Linked DNA regions of Homo sapiens: regions 2 and 3 are each linked to region 1. Evidence: promoter capture Hi-C in 16 types of primary human blood cells and fetal thymus (Javierre and others, 2016). All regions are on one chromosome and are shown on one strand. The core of a region is centred on a gene start or on the middle of the fragment in contact, and the rest is flanking DNA. Distances in the headings are between cores, read along the strand shown.

Region 1 (2,559 bases), core at 60-2,559:
ACATGGCGGCTCACTACCTGTAGTCCCAACAGTTTGGAAGGCCGAGGTGGGAGGCTCACTTGAGGCTAGGAGTTCGAGACCAGCCTGGGCAATATAGCGAGACCCTATCTATACAAAAATAAAATGTGGAAATGATGTATTTGTGTTGGGACCTCTGTGTTATATACAAAAACATCCCAGTGCAGCTCCTTGGTCTCAGTAGGATGCATGAGCCTTCAACCCTCTCAGCCTGGGCTCAGAAAATTTCCTGGAGCAGATTAATTTGGAGTTTGGTTTAAAGGAGAAGCCAGTGGCGGCAAACACTCTTGGTTATGAGAGGTCTCTTTTTCTTTCACTTTCTTCCTTCAGCTCCCCTAACTGCCATGCAATGGGCAGAAGACATAAAGTGAACTTAAGGCGTATTCTTTCCTCAAGCAATGAGACTCTTACCCCTTTTGTCATGGCAATGGATCTCAGAGTCCACTTAATTCCCTGGTCCCTGATCTCAAACGATGGCCTGAGGCTAAACAATTTGTTTTCTAGGGTAGCTTGGAGCTTGTGGGTGAGGGGAATTACTACTGTGTCCTCTGCGTTCACCCAGAGAGTGACAGAGATCAGGAACCACTGCCTCTCCCCTGCCAGACCTTGTCGGGCTCATGGGAAGCACATGCGTCAGTGTACTAGGGATTCCTGGCGCCTCAAGGGTTCAAGCAACCCTCACACCAGTAAAGGCGGCCCTGCCTAGCACAGGCAGGACGCGGAGGTGGAGAGTTGCGGGGCGCCATGCAGCCGCCAGAGGACGCAAGTGCCTCAAGTCCCCGCGCGATGGCGCCCCACGGACCGGGAAGGAAAGGTGGTCCGCCTGCGAGGAGGCGCGGACCGGGCCAAGGAGCCCATAGGAAGAGCGGGGCGCCGCCTCACCCGCGAGCTGCCGGCCTCTGCATCCGGCCCACCTGTCCCTCCCTGCCTACCAACCCAAGAGCCTCACCCCGATCTGCGCTTGCTGGGTGACCTCGACGCCCGGGCGGGGACAGAGGGCGCTCTGAGCTCTGCGCTCAGCTCCCAGACCCACTCCCACTCCGAGGCGGAGGCCAGGTCTTCAGAGAGGAACGACGGAGGCGCAGAAGCCCAGGGGCAGCCCGCTCCAGCCCTGGCAGCCGCGGAACAATGGCCCGAGCGGCTGCGGGCGCCGCGGCGGGCGCGGAGGAGCAGGGGCGCCAGGGCGCTGGAAGCCCCGCCCCTCGGCCGGCGCCCTGACAACGCGGGCGGGCTGGGCTGCGCCGCCTGCTCCCCGCCCCTCGGCCGCCTGCACCGGGCGGGGCCCGGGCCAGAGCGCCGCCGCCGCCGCTGCTGCAGCAGCAGCTGCTCTGCAGAGTGGTGGCCGGGGCCAGGGCCGGGGTGCCCTCCCTCCCACCTTCTCCCGCCATGAGCCAGGGAAGTCCGGGGGACTGGGCCCCCCTAGATCCCACCCCCGGACCCCCAGCATCCCCCAACCCCTTCGTGCATGAGTTACATCTCTCTCGCCTCCAGAGGGTTAAGGTAATGTGTGGGGAGCGGGCGTCGGAAGGACCCGTGAGGATAGGAAAATGGGGCCATTTGAGCCCTGGCAAAGGTGGGCTTGGGGATCCACGAGAAGGAGATGGCTGAGAGGCTTGCGGAGCGGGAGTCCGGGGGTGCGCACGTGGGGGCGGCCGCGGTTGGGCAAGGAGTCCTGGAGAGGACGCTGCGGGCTTGGGCGATAGACAAGCTCGAAGATGTGGAAAAACTGAGTAGGTGGGGATGGAGGGCTGCAGGGGACCCTGGGGTTGGAGAGATGAAGGACGCTGGGGAATGCGGATTACATTCTGCAGAGCCTGATGGCTAGGATGGAGTTAGAGTCTACGGGAAGCCGGGGGTGGGGGCGGGGGCGGGGGCGTGCCGAGTATTCCTCCGAGGCATGACTTAGAGGGAAGACGTTTCTGGGCCGGGAGCCTGCGACCCTGTGCCCTTCCTACACTCCCTCTTCCCACTCCCTCCAACCCCCCTCCACCCCGCACTGCAGCACCTCCCGGTGGGGGCAGGGAGGCTGAGAGGGAGGTTGGCTACAGGAAGTGGAGGGCCGCGCCAGCCTAGGGGAGCTGGGAGGTGGTGTGGGGAGGGAGTGTCCAAGGTTTCTGCTGTCATCACCTCCCCGGAGGCAGGCTCCAGGGGCTAGGTTTGCTTACCTGCTTCTTCCCCAAGGCAGCCTATGGAGTCATCCTGGCTCCTGGCAGCCTCTCTCCCTTGCAGAGTGGGGCCGAGCTCTTGTCTCCCATATCCCCCGGTACTCTAAGATTGCTGTTGAGCAGTGTCAGAAAATGACCTCGGGTCTGAAAACTGGACCTCTGGCTGTTTACAGCCCTCTGCCTCCTAGGCCCAAAGTGGAAAGATCTGTGCACCTGGTTTCTGTTGGGCATAGGAGCTATTTATGGAATAAGATGTGGGGGAGGAGGACCTGTCTCTAACCTACTGTACATCAAGCACAGCGCCCTGCACTTTCGCATGCATTCTTATTAAATCCTCTAAGTGCTAGATGCTTTTTATGGCTTTCGGTTTTATAAA
Region 2 (2,559 bases), core at 17-2,516, 220 kb after region 1:
AGAGAAGTATAAGTGAACTTGTAGCTTATTTGTTGAGGTAAGTGTGACCTTTTATCCTCTTTGTTCAATCACTTTTTTTCTGAGACAAGTTCTTGCTTTGTCATCCAAGTTGGAGTACAGTGGCACAATCATGGCTCACTGCAGCCTCAACCTGCTGAGTTCAAGCAGCCCTCCCACCTCAGCCTCCTGAGTAGCTGAGAGTACAGGTGCACATCACCACACCTGGCTATTTTTTAAAAAAATTTTTTGGAAGACATGAGGTCTTATGTTTCCCGGGCTGGTCTCGAACTCCTGAGCTCAGGTGAACCTTCTTCATTATTCTAAACTGCCTATATGTAGCTTCAGTAGAGACAGTATGGCTTAAATTACATTCCTCACCCATCTAAGAGTAACCAAAATACAGAAAACAATGTTTTATCAGATTGAACAAAGCTGTTACCTTTCCTGACTGTCATTCTTACCTATAAAACTAAGAGATAACGATATGGGAAAACTAACCTTCTAAAAATCCCTTTTGAGGCCAGGTGTGGCAGTTCTTGCCTATAATCCCAGCATTTGGGAAGGTTGAGGTGAGAGAGTCCCTTGAGCCCAGGAGTGAGAGACTGAGCAACATAGCAAGACTCCATCTCTACAAAAAATAAAAATAATAAGCCAGGCACAGTGGTACGTGCTTGTGGTCCCAGATACTTGGGAAGATCACTTTGAACCCAGGAGTTGGAGGTTGCAGTAAGCTGTGATTATGCAACTACATTCCAGCCTGGGCAACCGAATGAGACCCGTTTCTTAAAAAAAAAATTACTAAAAATAAAAAGTAAACATCCCTTTTGAGTGGGAATTTGAAGCATTACTTTCCTCATTGTATTCAAGTCTCTCAGATGTTACCTTAGGGAAGCCTTCTTTGACCAACTTATTTTAAAATACCTATTTCTCCACTCCCTATCTCGCTTTCCTGTTTTATTTTTCTCCATAGCACTTATATCAACCTGCTCTATATGTCTTATGTCTTGTTATTTGTTTATTGCCTGTCTCTGTCCCACCCCCCAACCCCCACAGTTGCTCACACACTGGAATACAAGCCCTGTGTCTTTGTTCATTGCTGTATCCACAGACATGACTCATTGTAGATACTGACATTGTTAAATGAATGAATTTCTCAAAAGCGGTGTGAATAATCATAATATGAAAGTAAATAAGGAAATCAGCTCTCTAAGGCAATGCTATTCTTTTTATACTCTCAGGATAGAAGATCTTGGCGTTGTGGTAGATTGCCTTCCTGTGCTCACCAATTGGTAAAAACAATATTTTTCAGAAAAAAAATAAGATTAAAGGAGGTCAAATTATGGCCCATCCATATTTTTATAACTTGGTATTTATTTTAGTTTACAGGAAGAAAAACAATATATCTCACTTGGCTGCTGTGTTGACTTGTTGCCTCTAGTAAAGTCACTACTTAAAAGCAAATTTGAAGAGTAAGTGCTAATCTGAATCTTGATTCATTTTTCTTTTTCAGCATCCTTGATTTTGTGCTTTGTGAGTACATAGTAGATTGGGCTCCATGAGACATGCAAGGTTTCTGTTTTCAAGAAGCTAATAGTACAATTAGGAAAAGAATATGAAATGACTAAAGGACAATTATAAAAGCATCTCTAAACAAATTACATGAAATATACTTTTGTGTAATAGATCATGAAGGTAACAATTTTTTAAAAGGGAAGGGACCAATGTGTGTGTGTGTTTTTTGGGAGGGAAAGTATCATCTTTTATAAGAAGGGTTCTTAGATGAAAACACTTGAATTTTGTAACAAAATGTCATTTCAGATATGTTATAGTTGGTTTAAACTGGCTTCAAGCAGTCATTAAAAGGTGGTGGTCAGAACTATCATCCAAAACAGAAATTATAAATGATGGGTGAGTATACCTTTAAAGATAAACTCATGCTGAAATTTTCTTCAGGAAAGCAGCTTGATTAAACTAGGTAATAATTTTATCCCATTATCATCAGTGTATGGTATTTATTCTTTTTATATTCAGAGAGATACTAACTTAAGAGACTGTTCATTTGTGAAAACCACACCTGGAAATTGAATTCCAGAGCCTACTAACCTCCTGTATCTCTTCTTCTGGCACAACCCTACCCTTCATTTTAGAAGAAAAACACAATAGTGGTTTAATTCTCATATTCATTATGAGTAAGGGAGGAAAAAGAGATGCCCACAGTGTAATAAGGAATGGAGGCACCCTGCGGGGTCCTTTACCTAGACATTAACCTGAGAGTCCGGTGTTGATGTTTACAGTTCTAAAAACTGTATTATTACTGCCTTGATGTGAAAATTCGTGGGTATTCTACCAGAGTATAGCCAGATTATCATGAAACCACAGAAAAATATCTCCCAACAGTTTCCTTAAAGTCCATAATTTTGGGCCAGGCACGGTGGCTGATGCCTGTCTGTAATCCCAGCACTTTGGGAGGCCAAGAAGGGCAAATCACTTGAGCTCACAAGTTTGAGACAGCCTGGGCAACATGATGACATCCCGTCTCTACAAAAAATACAAAAATTA
Region 3 (2,559 bases), core at 30-2,529, 170 kb after region 1:
CTGGCCTCAAACTCATGGGCTCAAGTGCTACTCCCGCCTTGGCCTTTCAAAGTGCTAGAATTACAGGTATGACCCACTGCACCTGGCCCTAAATCATATTTTCAAAAAAAAATCTTTTAACATGTAGGAAAATATAATATTAATGACAAAATGCAGCATATAAAACTAAACTGCAGGCTGGGTGCAGTGGCTCACGCCTATAATCCCACCACTTTGTGAGCCCAAGGCAGGTGGATCATGAGGACAGGAGTTCGAGACCAGCCTGGCCAATATGGAGAAACCCCGTCTCTACTAAAAATACAAAAATAAGCCAGGCATGGTGGCGTGCACCTGTAGTCCCAGCTGCTCGGGAGGCCAAGGCAGAAGAATCGCTTGAAGCCAGGAGGCGGACGTTGTGGTGAGCCGAGATCGTGCCACTGCATTCCAGTCTGGGCAACAGAGCAAGACTCCATCTCAAAAAAATAAAAAACGACAAAGAAAAACTAAACTGCATGGGAGGAAAAGTGGTTGAATTACTGGTGATTTTGCTGGTGATTTTTTTTTTTTTTTTTTTTTTTTTTTTTGAGACAGGGCCTTTCTCTGTCACCCACGCTGGAGTACAGTGGTGCAATTTTGGCTCACTGCAGCCTCAACCTCCTGGGCTCAAGCGACCCTCCTGCCTCAGCGTCCTGAGTAGCTGGGACTACTGGTGTGCACCACTATGCCCGGCTAATTTTTGTATGTTTTGTAGAGACAGGGTTTCACCACGTTGCCCAGGCAGGTCTCAAACTCCTGGGCTCAAGCGACCCAACTGCATTTGTCTCCCAAATTGCTAGGATTACAGGAATGAGTTATCATGCCCAGCCTACTGGTGATATTTTAATTAATTAATTTATTTTTTGAGACAAGAGTCTTGCTCTGTTTCCCAGGCTGGAGTGCAGTGGCGCCATCTCTGTTCACTGCAACCTCCGCATCCCAGGTTCAGGCGATTCTTGTGTCTCAGCCTCCTGAATAGCTGAGATTACAGACGTATGCCACCACGCCTGCCTAATTTTTGTATTTTTAGTAGAGATGGGATTTTGCCATATTGGCCAGGCTGGTTTCAAACTCCTGGCCTCAAGTGATATGCCTGCCTCAGCCTCCCAAAGTGCTGGGATTACAGGCATGATCCACTGCATCTGGCCTTAAGTTTTTTTTTTGTTTTTTTTTTTTTTTTTTTGAGACGGAGTCTCGCTCTGTCGCCCAGGCTGGAGTGCAGTGGCGCGATCTCGGTTCACTGCAAGCTCCGCCTCCCGGGTTGACGCCATTCTCCTGCCTCAGCCTCCCGAGTAGCTGGGACCACAGGCGCCCGCCACTACGCCCGGCTAATTTTTTGTATTTTTAATAGAGGCGGGGTTTCACTGTGTTAGCCAGGATGGTCTCGATCTCCTGACCTCATGATCCGCCCGCCTCTGCCTCCCAAAGTGCTGGGATTACAGGCGTGAGCCACCGCGCCCGGCAAGCCTTAAGTTATTTTTAAAGTAATACTTATGAGATGCAAAATTTGGTATAAAGAGGACATAAAGTAAAAACGTTTAATACTGTTGATCCCCAGCTCCCAGGTTCACCTTTGTGGAAGCATTCAGTGATTGCTGGGGGATATTCTAAAAGGAGAGAGATTATTTTTTCCATATTTATTCCTGATTTTTTCTTCTTCTATGCATCCTTCTCCCTATACCCAAATCCAGGAGTATGGAGTGGGAAGGAGGGACAGCACGTAGTCTTTCTACACACGTCTGTTTTTGTTTCTGTCTCTTCTCCCTCCCCGGACTTTCACATTACTTACTGAAACAAAGTCGATTTCGTATACAGTCATTGAAGAGACCACCACCCTCTAGGCCTAAAAGCAAGAGACATGCCATTTTCTCTGTATCATTGCAGAGCATTGCCGTAAATATGTATGTCTCCCATGAATTGGCTTTGTTCACTGAAATAGTCTGGTATCCTATTTCTTGTAACTTACAGGAATTGTTTTTGTTTTTTTTTTTTTTTTGAGATGGAGTCTCACTCTGTCGCCCAGGCTTGAGTGCAGTGGCGCCATCTCTGCTCACTGCAACCTCTGCCTCCTGGGTTCAAGCAATTCTCCTGCTTCAGCCTCCTGAGTAGCAGGGATTACAGGCACGTGCCACCACACCTGTCTCATTTTTTGTACTTTTAGTAGAGACAGGGTTTCACCGTGTTAGCTGGGATGGTCTCGATCTCCTGACCTGGTGATCCACCTGCCTCGGCCTCCAAAAGTGCTGGGATTACAGGCTTGAGCCACTGCGCCTGACTGAATTTTTAATCATATAAAAAAGCAGAGAGGATAGTATAATAAACTTTACAATTACCCAGCTTCAGCAATTATCAACATATCTTACTTCGTTGATACTCCCTATTCTGTGCAAATCCTAAATGTAATCTCATTTTATCTGTAGGATGGATTTTTTTTTTTTTTTTTTTTGAGATGGAGTCTCACTGTGTGCTCTGTGGCCCAGGCTGGAGTGTAGTGGTGCAATCTCGGCTCACTGCAAGCTCTGCCTCCCAGGTTCACTCCATTCT

What was found. Contacts are between HindIII fragments. The CHiCAGO score rates a contact against its expected background, and 5 or more counts as called.
Region 2: a contact is called between a fragment that was not itself captured here and the fragment with the promoter of LPCAT4 in region 1, in 1 of 17 cell types (neutrophils). The highest score is 5.1, in neutrophils.
Region 3: a fragment that was not itself captured here is called in contact with the fragment with the promoter of LPCAT4 in region 1 in 1 of 17 cell types (neutrophils); the score reaches 5.3 in neutrophils.

Annotation. Positions count from the first base shown.
Region 1 is chr15:34,365,946-34,368,504 of GRCh38, reverse strand. It overlaps LPCAT4 (lysophosphatidylcholine acyltransferase 4), which reads left to right and starts at 1,309. Exons shown (of 14, transcript NM_153613.3): 1 at 1,309-1,518. The coding sequence starts at 1,405. RefSeq lists enhancers at 265-554, 154-1,149 and silencers at 925-974, 1,105-1,564, 1,685-1,734, 1,815-1,904. The HindIII fragment of the contact is 20,785 bases long and covers 1-2,559 here.
Region 2 is chr15:34,146,110-34,148,668 of GRCh38, reverse strand. KATNBL1 (katanin regulatory subunit B1 like 1) reads left to right here. Exons shown (of 10, transcript NM_024713.3): 5 at 1-37; 6 at 1,239-1,289; 7 at 1,380-1,469; 8 at 1,819-1,908. Among named protein-coding and RNA genes, the nearest start is that of PGBD4, 45 kb to the right of the region's middle. The HindIII fragment of the contact is 4,046 bases long and covers 1-2,559 here.
Region 3 is chr15:34,191,856-34,194,414 of GRCh38, reverse strand. All of the region lies in intron 1 of KATNBL1 (katanin regulatory subunit B1 like 1), which reads left to right. Among named protein-coding and RNA genes, the nearest start is that of KATNBL1, 17 kb to the left of the region's middle. The HindIII fragment of the contact is 4,650 bases long and covers 1-2,559 here.